Regions from separate parts of the Homo sapiens genome. Here region 2 is linked to region 1. Evidence: promoter capture Hi-C in 16 types of primary human blood cells and fetal thymus (Javierre and others, 2016). All regions are on one chromosome and are shown on one strand. The core of a region is centred on a gene start or on the middle of the fragment in contact, and the rest is flanking DNA. Distances in the headings are between cores, read along the strand shown.

Evidence for each region. Contacts are between HindIII fragments. The CHiCAGO score rates a contact against its expected background, and 5 or more counts as called.
Region 2: a fragment that was not itself captured here is called in contact with the fragment with the promoter of WAPL in region 1 in 1 of 17 cell types (naive CD8 T cells); the score reaches 5.1 in naive CD8 T cells.

Annotation. Positions count from the first base shown.
Region 1 is chr10:86,520,255-86,526,647 of GRCh38, forward strand. WAPL (WAPL cohesin release factor) reads right to left here and starts at 1,538. Exons shown (of 19, transcript NM_015045.5): 1 at 1,111-1,538. WAPL-DT (WAPL divergent transcript) reads left to right here and starts at 1,693. Exons shown (of 2, transcript NR_186498.1): 1 at 1,693-2,155; 2 at 2,255-4,847. RefSeq lists silencers at 1,032-1,451, 1,592-2,151. The HindIII fragment of the contact is 16,574 bases long and covers 1-3,979 here.
Region 2 is chr10:89,707,021-89,712,849 of GRCh38, forward strand. It overlaps KIF20B (kinesin family member 20B), which reads left to right. Exons shown (of 33, transcript NM_001284259.2): 3 at 2,147-2,233; 4 at 2,325-2,441; 5 at 2,907-3,045; 6 at 3,941-4,125. Among named protein-coding and RNA genes, the nearest start is that of KIF20B, 8.3 kb to the left of the region's middle. The HindIII fragment of the contact is 5,889 bases long and covers 1-4,263 here.

The DNA.
Region 1 (6,393 bases), core at 288-2,787:
ACTGCACTCCAGCCTGGGCAACAAGGGCGAAACTCCGTCTCAAAATAATAATAATAATGATAATAATAATTTTGTGCCAAAAGACCACGTCTTTTACAAATACATAGTGAAATACTGATGAAATAACGTCAGCGATTTTCCAACATTAAGGAATGAGAAGTGTATAGATGAAATAAATTTGTTTAATAGTCACTGCTAAATCCAAGCGATGGGTACAGAGAAGTTCATTATATAATATCTCCTCCTGATTGCCTTTATCGTTTCCCACAATAAAATGTCTTTGCAATGGCATTATCTAAGCGTAAAGCACTACAGATTCCAAAATAAGTGTGCAGACGTCCTTGAAGTTAAATTTTAAGTGTTTCAAGTACACAATCTTGCTCAACCTTTAAACTCCAAAGACTGTCCTAACTAAAAAGGAAAGAATGATTGACGACTAAGTCTTTTCGGTCGTTCGGCTTTTGCCCTAGCCCAAAATCAGGTCGAATTTTGAGAGAAGTGCGCTGTGATTTAAAAAAAAAAAAAAAAAAAAAAAAGCAAAAAGCCTTTATACTTCACTCCCACCCTAATCTAGCGTCTTCCCGATCCCCAAAGGCTTTAAGGGCTTCCATTAAAGATGGAAAGCGGACGGGACGAACCTGACTAACCAGAAATCCTCACCTGGGGACAGCCGGGGCGCCACGGGCAGTGGGCGCGATGGACCCCTCGGACTAGACACTCAATGCAACTTTTCTCCTCCCAACCCGCGCCGCCCAGGAAAGGGAGGTCACTTTCGACGCCCCGGAAGCCTCTGCCACCGAATCCTTAAGGCAGTGCAAGGCCCCAGTGGCGGCCAGAGGCGGATGAAACCACGGGAAAGGACTCGGGGCTGAAATCAACACACTTGACTGGGTTTGGGGAGCTAAGTCAATCAGCAGTCGCCCGAAAAAGAACTCCGAAAAAGGAAAATAAAAGGGGAAAAAAAGAGTTCCTCAGGTCATTCCCCTGCCCAACTTCCTCAGCGGCCCGGTGGGCGAGGCAGTGAGACTTCCACCGCCCGCTCCCAGCCTCTGCCTCCCCCACCCTCCCGGCTCCCTCCCGGCCTAGGCGGCCGCCCGACACCTCACTTACCCTCGGAGCCTGGCGGGTGCTTTGGCCACGGGCCGCCTCCGCCTCTCCCGCTCCCTACGGCCCGCGGGCGGGCGCGGAACCCTCGCGCGGGAGAGCAGGGCCGGCAGGTGAGAGCCGAGAGAGGCGAGGGACTCTGCTTTCGGTAAATAGGAAGCCCGGTTGGGGGGGCAGGAGCGGCGGCCCCGCAACTTCCCTCCCCGCCTCGAGCGCCGCCGGCCGGGCCCAGGCCTAGCTCTCGCTGGCCGCCACTGCTGGAGCTGGTAACAGAGCCTGCTGTGTGCCCCCGCTGGGCCGCCGCCGCCTCCTGCGCCGCCGCTTCCGCCGGTGAATGGTCAGTGCTGGAGTTTGAACAGGGCCCTGAACCATCTCAACGCCATTTGCGCTCCCGGCCCCCACCTCCTTCCTCCAACAGCCGCTCGCTCCGTCACTCCGCTTCCCACAGTCCCCGCGCGGCCGCCCGACCCCGCAGCCAATCGCGCAGCCGCTTACTCAAACCGCCGCGCAGGCGCTGCGCCCCGCATGCTCCGGCGCCCGCCATTGGCCCGGCCGCGGAGCCCGACGGGAGTTGTAGTCCAGGTCCGCGAGGTCGCGGGCCGAGGACCAGGCGCGGGAGCGGGAGCGGGCGACTGGCCGGGCCCTCCCGGTCTCGGCAGCCACTTCTAGCTCCCGGCCCAGCCGGGAGACGCAGGTGCCACGGAGATGGGCAGCCGGGCGGGTGGCGCAGTGCAGGCAGCTGTATCAATCGCTTCCCCTCCAGGGACCCGCCGGTGCCTGGGGACCGCGGGCTGTGCAGCTGTGCCGGGCCTGCGGAGGCCGCCGCCCGGGAGCTGGGAGGCAGGGGGCGCGTGGTCAAGAGCCGCCCTCGACCTGGCCTGGTCGGTCCTGGCCCGGCGTAGGTGACGATGGCGGGGACCGCGAGGCGCCGGACACCCGAGGCCACGAGCAGCGTCGCCCCTCGCTTTTTCGCGCCCCTCCAGCCCTGCAGTCCTTCCTCTAAGTCCGTCTGCCCCTCACCGATTGAAAGTGGCCCCGAGAATATTGGATGGTATTGAGCAATTATCATTAACTTTGTTGGGTGTGGTAACGGTAATGTGGTTATGGTTTTTTGTTTTTTTTTTTTTAAGACCTACTGATGTGTTGACAGAGTGATCTGGTGTCAGGACTGTAAAATACGCCTATGAAAACTGGGGGAGAGGAATAAAACAAGCTGGCAGAACGTTTTTCATCGTTGAAGCTGCGTGATGCGAGCATATGTGCTCATCATACAGTCTCTTTACTTGTGTATCTGAAATTTTCCATAATAAAAAGTTTAAAGAAGTGAACCAGCGATTGCCTCTAGGGAGGACAGTGAGGTGGCGGATGACGGGAGGAAGGAGTCTTAATTTTTCGCTGTACGCCTTTTTGTGCTATCTTAGGTTTTTCCCATTCAATGTGTTACCTAATTCAGAAAATTGGTAAGTTTTTTTTAAGGCTACCATGGGAAAACAGCGTTCTAAAGAGTAGCGCAACCAGTTCCCCCTAAGAGAGGTGCATGATTCGTCGGACTCCGACAGCCTTGGTGTTTGTTAGGCGGTTAATGGAGACCCACCTGGGAAATTAGAAAACTACTAATTGCTTTCAGTGAGAAGCCCGCCCTTCTCCCACAAATGGATAATTTGCTTTTAATGCACCCAGAAGTTATCCAGCTCCCTCCGGTATAATCGGGGAAACTCCAAATAAAGGAAAAATAGTTCAGAGACCCTGCAGCTCTTCCCAAGAGGAATTTAAGGTGGATTTTAGTGTGGTTGGATTGTTTTGCCTACCTGACTGCAGAATTTATATTCTGACATTTACAATTTCCTAAATACTGAATCAGTACTTTTTCTTGTTTCAAAATAAATCAACTTCTTCTGTAGTTTATATGAAAAACAAGTCCATGTCTTCCACTGTGGGTGGGATGCACATGACTGTTTTATTTGGGTCAGTTTTGTCTCTTTTTTTAATTGGCAGTTTAGGAACTTGTTTTTATCATTTTGTTTAAAGATCTTCTGGCAGAGGTGCAGGCTGCACTTACTATAATTATTTAGATGACAAGGTGGTGGGTGGTAATTAAAGGGTAATTATCATCAGAGGCAAAAGGTAAGATCAAAAAACCAGAAGAGGTGAGGAAACAATTGCAAGATCTTCCTGTAGGAGGGTGTCGTGATCCTCCCAAGACCAAAGGATATGTCTATTATGCCTGGCCTCTCTAGTGCTGGACACTTGGCAGGGTCAGTGCCTGCATGAGGCTGAAGTGGAAGGGCTTATTGTTTAGACTGGTGCCTTTTGAGGGCTTTTATGTGATGGTTGTGTTAAGTAATGAAACTTAGTAGTGTCAAATTCTTGCCACTCAAAGAATGATCCCCAATCAGCAGTGTAGCATCACCTGGAAGCCTGTAAGGAACGCATAATTCCTATCCCTCACCCCAGCTCCACTGAATCAGAACCTGCATTTTAACAGGATTCCCCCAGCTGATTGGGCTGCACATTAAAGTTTGACAAGCACTGATTTAAAGTATACCCATAGCATTTGACAGCAATCTAGTATTTTTCGTTAGGATGAGGGAGAGGAAGGGAGATGATTAAGAACCTCCTATGCATCAGGTAAGATGCTAGGCTGTTCAGGGGCCTTGTCTGCTTCCCAGTCCATTACTCTATCTTACAAGTAAGGAAATGGGAAGACTTGTATGTTACAACTAATGAGGGAGTCAAACTTTTTCTTGACGGTTGGATACCCTTTAGTACTTCTTGGTGTTCTTGAATCTGGTAGAAAGTGGTACATGATTTGAGAAGTAAAGTGTGTGTGAGTGTGTGTGTGTGTGTGTGTGTGTGTGTGTATTTAGTCTGTGGAAGCTTAGTATATGAATATTAAGCAGAGCTCTTCTGGGCTCTGTACCCTTGTGTGGCTCACACTAAAGACACCCCTCGGGCCCCTCCTGGAGGGAGTTCAGACTCCTGGCCCTGCAGGCTGTACCACCACCTTAACCCCTTACCTCCCTGCTTCCACTGAGGCAAGCAAATGCCCTGAAGTCCCCTCATTCCCTTACCAGGGCCCTGGGTTCCACACCAGAATGAGCAAACAGAACTCCAGTGTGGGTAACACATGGCTGAACAGCTTTTTGTTGTATTGTTTTTGTTTTCTTAGTTCTCTCAGCTCAGGCTCCATCCCCCTGGCCACCTCAACCCCTAGAATGGTTGTCTCCATTTCATGAGAATCTTCACACTAACATCAAGTAGCCAGTAGGTGCTTTTGGTTTTGCTAGAATGCCTGTGTGCAAGCTCTCAGATACCTGATTTTCTTTCCCCCACTGAATGTTGTGTTTGTCAGAAACTGAAATCATGGATCAGAGCCAAGTTTGTAGTACCCTTAGGAGGGGCCTCTGCCCTCCTGTGTGCTGCCTGGGTGAGGACAGAACCCCCTAACCTGGAGCTCCACTTGAGTGGGCCCATACCTGTACTTTCCTCTGAAAAAAGAAAATCCTGCAAAGAAAATAGAAGACATCTGTTCTGCCATTGCCATGCCCTTGTTCTAGCCCAGACATGAGAACTGTCAGAATTGGAGTTACTAAATAGAACTTTTAGTCTTTTTCTGATAATGTGTAGTAAAGTGTATTACAACTTATAGAATTCTATTTAGGGAACTACAGGTCAGAAACTACCATATTGGTAGCAGTCAATTTTTCTTTGCCATCGGATGTGGAATAAAATGTTAAATTGTACACTTGCATGTTGTGGTTATATTACAAAGCTCTACGAGATGTGGGCCAGGCCCTGCCCTTTGCTCATGCAGCCCCAACTTTCTGCTCTGCCCACACCTGACTCCTTGCTGTTTCCCCACCTTAGGGCCTTTGTATTTCCTATTCCCTCTGCCTACAACTCCCCCAGATACCAGCCTGCTTCAATTCTCTCCTCTAGGTTTTCACTCAGATGGGACTTTTCAATGAATCTCCCCTGACCAACCTATCTTAAATTGTTGCAACATCCTCACTCCTAAATGTCACTGTCCCTGCTTTACTTTCTTTAAGGGCATTTATCTTCCCATCTAACATATCAGGCATTTTGCATGTTTATCTTAAATGTTGTGCTCCCTCTGAAGGCAGGGATCTCTGCCTGTCTTGTTTTCTGCTGCAACCCTAGCACCTAGAAGACTGCCTGGCACAAGAGTAGGTGCTCAATAAATATTTGTTGAATAAAAGCACCCATTTATTTCCTTCTTTCATGTAAAATTATATACATATATTATATATATATATATATATATTTTTTTTTTTTTTTTTTTAGACGGAGTCTCGCTCTGTCACCAGGCTGGAGTGCAGTGGCGCGATCTCGGCTCACTGCAATCTCTGCCTCCCTGGTTCAAGCGATTCCCCTGCCTCAGCCTCCCCAGTAGCTGGGACTACAGGCGCACACCACCACACCCAGCTCATTTTTTGTATTTTAGTAGAGATGGTGTTTTGCATGTTGGCCAGGATGGTTTCGATCTCTTGACCTTGTGATCCGCCTGGCTCAGCCTCCCAAAGTGCTGGGATTACAGGTGTGAGCTACCATGCCTGGCCACATTTTTTTTTTTTTTTTTTTTTTTTTTTTTTGGTGACAGAGTCTTGCTCTGTCGCCCAGGCTGGAATGTAGTGGCACGATCTCCAATCACTGCAACCTCCACCTCCAGGGTTCAAGCCATCCTCCCACCTCAGCCTCCCAAGTAGCTGGGACTACATGTCCATGCTATCATGCCCCACTAATTTTTGTATTTTTGGTAGAGATAGGGTTTCACCTTGTTGCCCAGGCTGGTCTTGAACTTCTGGGCTCAAGCCATCCACCTACCTTGGCCTCCCAAAGTGCTGGAATTACAGGCATGAGCCACTGCCCCTGCCTATATCTTGAAAGGAAAGTGATAAAACTATCAACAGTTTCACATAACCTGGTAGCTCTAATAAAATGTTAACTGGGTTTTCACAATTGGGAGGGGAGTGCTTTCTGGAGAACTTTTGTTCTTGCCTTGGATAGGTTTTCATTCTGAGAATTGAGAAAATGAGTACTGTTATAATCCCAATTATCATATTTCCCAGGATAATTGGAATATGTTCTCTGGAGATAGTGACGTCCTCTGGGGAATACACTGCTGTCTAGGTAGATGAAACACAAAGCAAAGGAAATTCTCTAGGAGCACATTGCCTGACAAGGACCGGTACAAGCAACCTCGAAGAAGTCTGGCTTCCTGACCCTTGTCCTGGAAACAGCCCTTTTTTATTCAGGATCCTCACCCTT
Region 2 (5,829 bases), core at 69-2,568, 3.2 Mb after region 1:
TTAATCCATGAACACAGTATTCTTCATTTTATTTAGGTCTTTAATGTCTTAGCAGTATTTTATACTTGTCAATGTAGAGGCCTTTCGTGTCTTTTGTCAAATATATTTATAAACATTTTATGTTATTTGATGCTATTGTAAATATTTTTAGTTGCTTTATTTAGGCATAATGAAACACTGCATATATTTTAGATACGCAGTTTGATAAGTTTTGACATGTGCATACACTTATGTAACTGTCACTACAGTCAAGATAGTGAGTATAACCATTACCCTCAAAAGTTTCCTTGAGGCTCCTTGTAAGTGCTCCCTCCCATCACACCTCCAAGTAACCTCTGATTAGCATTTTGTTAGTATACATTAATTTTTTGTAGATTTGTTGGATTTTGTATGCGTATGTTCATGTTGTTTCTAAATAAAGAAAATTTTATTTCTTCCTTCCCAATTTGGATGACTTTTGTCTTTTCATTTCCTTTTTTTCTTTCCATTTTTTTTTTCCTTTTCTTTCCCCTCCTCTCCCCTCCACTTCTTTCTTTCCCTTCTTCCCTTCCCTTTTACCTTTCTTTTTCCTTTCCTTTTCTCTTCCCTTTTTCTTTCCCTTACCCCTCCTTTTTTCTTCCCCCATCCCCTTTCCCCCTTCACACCCAATTACACCAGCTAGAACCTTTAATACAATGTTACTAGAAGTGGGGAAGCAGAAATCCTCTTCTTATTACTCATTTTGCTGCTCATCTTAGATTGAGTCTTTCCTGTTAAGTTTGTTGTTAGCGATAGATTTTTTGTAAGTGCCCTTTATCAGGATGAGGAAGTTTGCATTCATTACACTTTGCTGAGAATTTTTATTACAGATGGACGTTGGATTTTGTCAAATGCTGTTTTCCCATCTGTAGAGATAAAAGTTTCTCTTCATTTATTCTTTTAATATGGTTAATTGCCTGGATTGATTTTTGAATGCTAAACAGACTTTATATTCCTAGAATAAACCATTCTTGGTCAGATGTATTATCCTGTTTTATATATTGGCTAGTATTTTGTGTGGGAAATTTTGCGTATATCTTAATGTGGTATTTTGTTTTCTAATTTTTTCCTGAGGATATCTTTGTCAATTGTGTTATTCGGCTTATGTCAAACTCAAAATTAGTTAAGGTATTTTCTCTTCCTATATTTTCTTAAAGAGTTTATGTACAATTTGTATTTTTTTTTTTTTTGAGACGGAGTTCTGCTCTTGTTGCCCAGGCTGGAGTGCAATGGCGCCATCTTGGCTCACCGCAATCTCTGCCTCCCAGGTTCAAGCGATTCTCCTGCCTTAGCCTCCCAAGTAGCTGGGATTACAGGCATGCACCACCATGCCTGGCTAATTTTGTATTTTTAGTTGAGATGGGGTTTCTCCATGTTGGTCAGGCTGGTCTCGAACTCCCGACCTCAGGTGATCCACCCGCCTCGGCCTCCCAAAGTGTTGGGATTACAGGCATGAGCCACCGCTCCTGGCCTGATCATTTTCTTAAATGTTTGATAGAATTTACTGTTAAACTACTAGGGCCTGAATTTTTTTTTTTGTGGCATTATTTTGTTTGAAAATGGATTCAGTTTGCTTCATAGAAATTGGGTTATTCAGATTTTCTAGTTATGTCTGTTTTGATTAAGTTGCATTTATCAAGTTGTTTCCTTTTTACTTTTTTAAAAAAACATTAAAACATTTCTTTAAAATTACATTTTCTATGCACATTTCTTCCTCAGAAAAAGTAACAAGGAGAATGGTACATAGTAAAAAAATTCTGAATACCTCATGGAATTGAGCATTTGAATAATAGAATATTCTAGTTACTTTTGATTTATTCTAGAGTTATATTTTCCAATGACTTAGGGCCTCATTAATTATATTAGGCTTTTGTGGAATAAAGCCTTTTTATAAACTTCACGTATAAATACAGGAGATGGAGGAAATTGGATCTTTTTTGGTGTATTTTGTTTTTATTTAAATAGATTTATTGAGTTTTTCTAACATTATTAAAAGCAGGATAGTGACTGCTTAGAAATTCTTTATCATCTCAGATTATTATGTAAAAAGTAGCCATGTTAAGGAAAAATGGTCTCTGAAAAGCCGTATCTTTCAAAAACACAATGTTTTTCTCCTTTATTTTTTAAGGCAAACAGTTTCGAATCTAAAGATTATCTCCAGGTTTGTCTTCGAATAAGACCATTTACACAGTCAGAAAAAGAACTTGAGTCTGAGGTTTGTGTTGAATTTAATAGAATTTTAATATTTTACTTTCATTTAAAATGGCAAAATACTAGTTTTTATTTATTGGGGGTATGTTTTCTAGGGCTGTGTGCATATTCTGGATTCACAGACTGTTGTGCTGAAAGAGCCTCAATGCATCCTTGGTCGGTTAAGTGAAAAAAGCTCAGGGCAGATGGCACAGAAATTCAGTTTTTCCAAGGTAAAACTGAAGTGTTTTTGTTTTTTGTTTTAAAGATAAAGAGACTTGGCTTAGGCTAAATTGCTATATAATTGTATATAATGAACTATACATTTTATGCTTATGCAACTTAGATTTTAAGGATAAGACTCAAATCTCAGGTCTGGAAATATATAATTGGATGTAAAGAGATCACTGTAGTGTTATTAAAGTTATTATTACTATATTTTTATTAAAGTTATTATTAATATATTTTTAAGAAATATTCTTTTCAAAACTTAGGTGAATACTTGATTCCCTGGTACAGATTTCTATCTTGAAAACTTTCTGGTAGTAAAACTATCAAATGTATTTGTGGGAGTGGGGATGTGGCACCTATTTTAAGAATGAATCTTTTAAATTTTTAAACAGTAGTGTTGGGATGGAACACACTATTAATATTAACTTGAATTTTCTAAAAAGAGTTTTTAAAAAATGTTTGCTTAGGTTTTTGGCCCAGCAACTACACAGAAGGAATTCTTTCAGGGTTGCATTATGCAACCAGTAAAAGACCTCTTGAAAGGACAGAGTCGTCTGATTTTTACTTACGGGCTAACCAATTCAGGAAAAACATATACATTTCAAGGTAAATATTGTTTTATTTTGGTTGGAAAGGATAAGGAAGCAATAATAATCACTCAGTGTTTTTATAATACATACATGTAGTTATGTTGCTATTACCTAGTATGCGTTTGCTCTATTTTTAATAGTACTAGCATATTATTACGTATTGCTGTTTTTTTTTTTTTTTGGCGGGGGAGGGACAGAGTCTCACTCTGTTGCCCAGGCTGGAGTGCAGTGGTGTGATCTCAGCTCACTACAACCTCTGCCTCCTGGGTTCAGATGACTCTCCTGCCTGAGCTGCTCAGCTTCCCAAGTAGCTGGGACTACAGGCGTGCGCCACCATGCCAAGCTAGTTTTTATATTTTTGTAGAAATGGGGGTTCACCATTTTGGCCAGGCTAGTCTCGAACTCCTGACCTCAGGTGATATGCCCACCTTGGCCTTCCAAAGTGCTTGGATTACAGGCAAGAGCCACCATGCCTGGCCTTGCTATTGGCTTTTAATTCAAATTTATTTAATTCATTTGTAAAAATACTTTACCCATTGATAGAGATTTAGATGATGATTAAAATCCAGAAAAAGTATTGATGTGATACAGAGAATTAAGCATAAATGACCAGAAGAAATTTTATATTTCATTTTACTTTTATAGTTTGTGATTATGGGTGGTTACAAATCTTAATATGGTTGCATTATCTGAATGTAAAGTTTCATGTTTACATCAGAATAATAGTCAATAAAATGTTGGTAATACTGTGAATAACAAAGTGATGGAAAACTGAGTAATCCTTAGCTATCATTTCCGTTTCAGTTGTTGACTCTTGCCTATTGGTAGTATAAAAGGAGCTTTAATAAACAAGTAAAGTTTCCTCTTTCCTAGTAGACTGAGAGAGTATAACACAAAAATTCCTTTTGCAGGGACAGAAGAAAATATTGGCATTCTGCCTCGAACTTTGAATGTATTATTTGATAGTCTTCAAGAAAGACTGTATACAAAGATGAACCTTAAACCACATAGATCCAGAGAATACTTAAGGTTATCATCAGAACAAGAGAAAGAAGAAATTGCTAGCAAAAGTGCATTGCTTCGGCAAATTAAAGAGGTATGGAAATATTTTAGTATGTAAAATATGTATAATTCCTGACTTCTTATAAACCCTTTAGATTGTTTCACCATATATTGGAATCTGGTTTGTGGTGGTAGTGTTTTTTGTTATTATTTATGTTTTCGAGAAAAATAAAGCTTAAAGTGTGAAGACATCTTTTGTATTTATATTATACCAACAGCAAGAATGTTTAAACAATACAAATGTAAATGGTTCTGAAATCTTTTTTGATTGTTGTAGAGCCAGCATTGTGCTTTTTATGTAATGATTTTTTAAAATTCTGTTTTTTAATTGTGAAAGTAATATGTACCCAAAATTTAAAATAGGGAATGTGAGAAGTAAAAAGTAAAAGTTTCCTTTAATTTCATTCCTAAAGAAAAAATTATTAATAGATTGGGAAGTATTGTTTTTGGACCTTTTCTCTCTCTATATAAAATCCATATACAGAGCTTTCTATCTGTATATACACAAACATGGTCATATATATGATGTGTATATCTTCATACCTTTGTTTTTATATGTATGATATAATTTTTTTTTTTAAACAAAAAAGAGATCTTACTATGCTTACCATTCTATGACTTGGTATTTCATTTAGCGTATCTTAAATCTCTTCCTACCTTAAATCATGTGCGTTTTATCTGTTATGTCTTTAACTTGTTTTTTTAAATTTTAAATCAGCTTTTAAAACTAAGTCTCCATTGATGGACATTTGTATTGTTTCTGTGTTTTACTATTTTGAACAGTGTTTCAGTAAAGAAACATTCCATTGCAAATATATTTGGTGCTAATTTTCCCAAACTCAGGCCAAGATTGGATATTTAATAATGTCTGGTTTGATAGGTGAAAAATGGCTCACTTGAGCCTACTTTATATTTTTTTAATTGTAAATTAGTTGATTAGTACATCTTAGAATTTTTTCCTGTGAATTGTCACATGTTCTTTGTCCATTTATCTAGTATTGTATGACTTTTCTTGTTTACTGATTTATTAAAATGTATTTAAAAAAATGAATACATTATTAATGTATTAGTGTATGGGTTGCAAATTTTCTGGCTTATTGTTTGCTTCTCCCCTGCCCCCATTGTGTTTTTCTTTTTTTTCTTCCTTTTTTTAGTTTTTAGAGACAGGATCTTGCTTTGTCATCCAGGCTGGAGTATAGCGGTATGATCATAGCTCACTGCTGTCTTGAACTCCTGGGCACAAGTGATTCTCCTGCCTCGACCTCCTCTGAATAGCTGGAACTACAGGGGCATGCCACCACTCCTGGCTGTTTTGATTTTTTTTGTAGAAATGGGGTCTTGGTATGTTGCCTAGGCTGGACTTGAACTCTTGGCCTCAAGAGATCCTCTTCCCTTGGCCTTCCAAAGTGTTGAGATTACATGTTTGAGCTGCCAAGCCTGGCCCATTGTGTTTTTCAGTATTCATCTATTCAGCAAATTTTATTAAGTCATCTGTTTTTTTTCCAGGCAATATTTTCAGTTTTGAGGACAAATGGTACTGCCCTCATGGAGACTGACAATAAATAAATATGTAATATACTGTGAGGAGGTATTGTTTTATATAAGGTGGTACCATATAAACTTTTAAAAATGAAGTTATACTTGTCTGTTTATTCCTCTTGTGCCTTCTGGATTTTGTAGTATATTTTCAGACATTATTCTATTCAAGGCTGTTAAAAACTACTAATTGTTTTTGTAA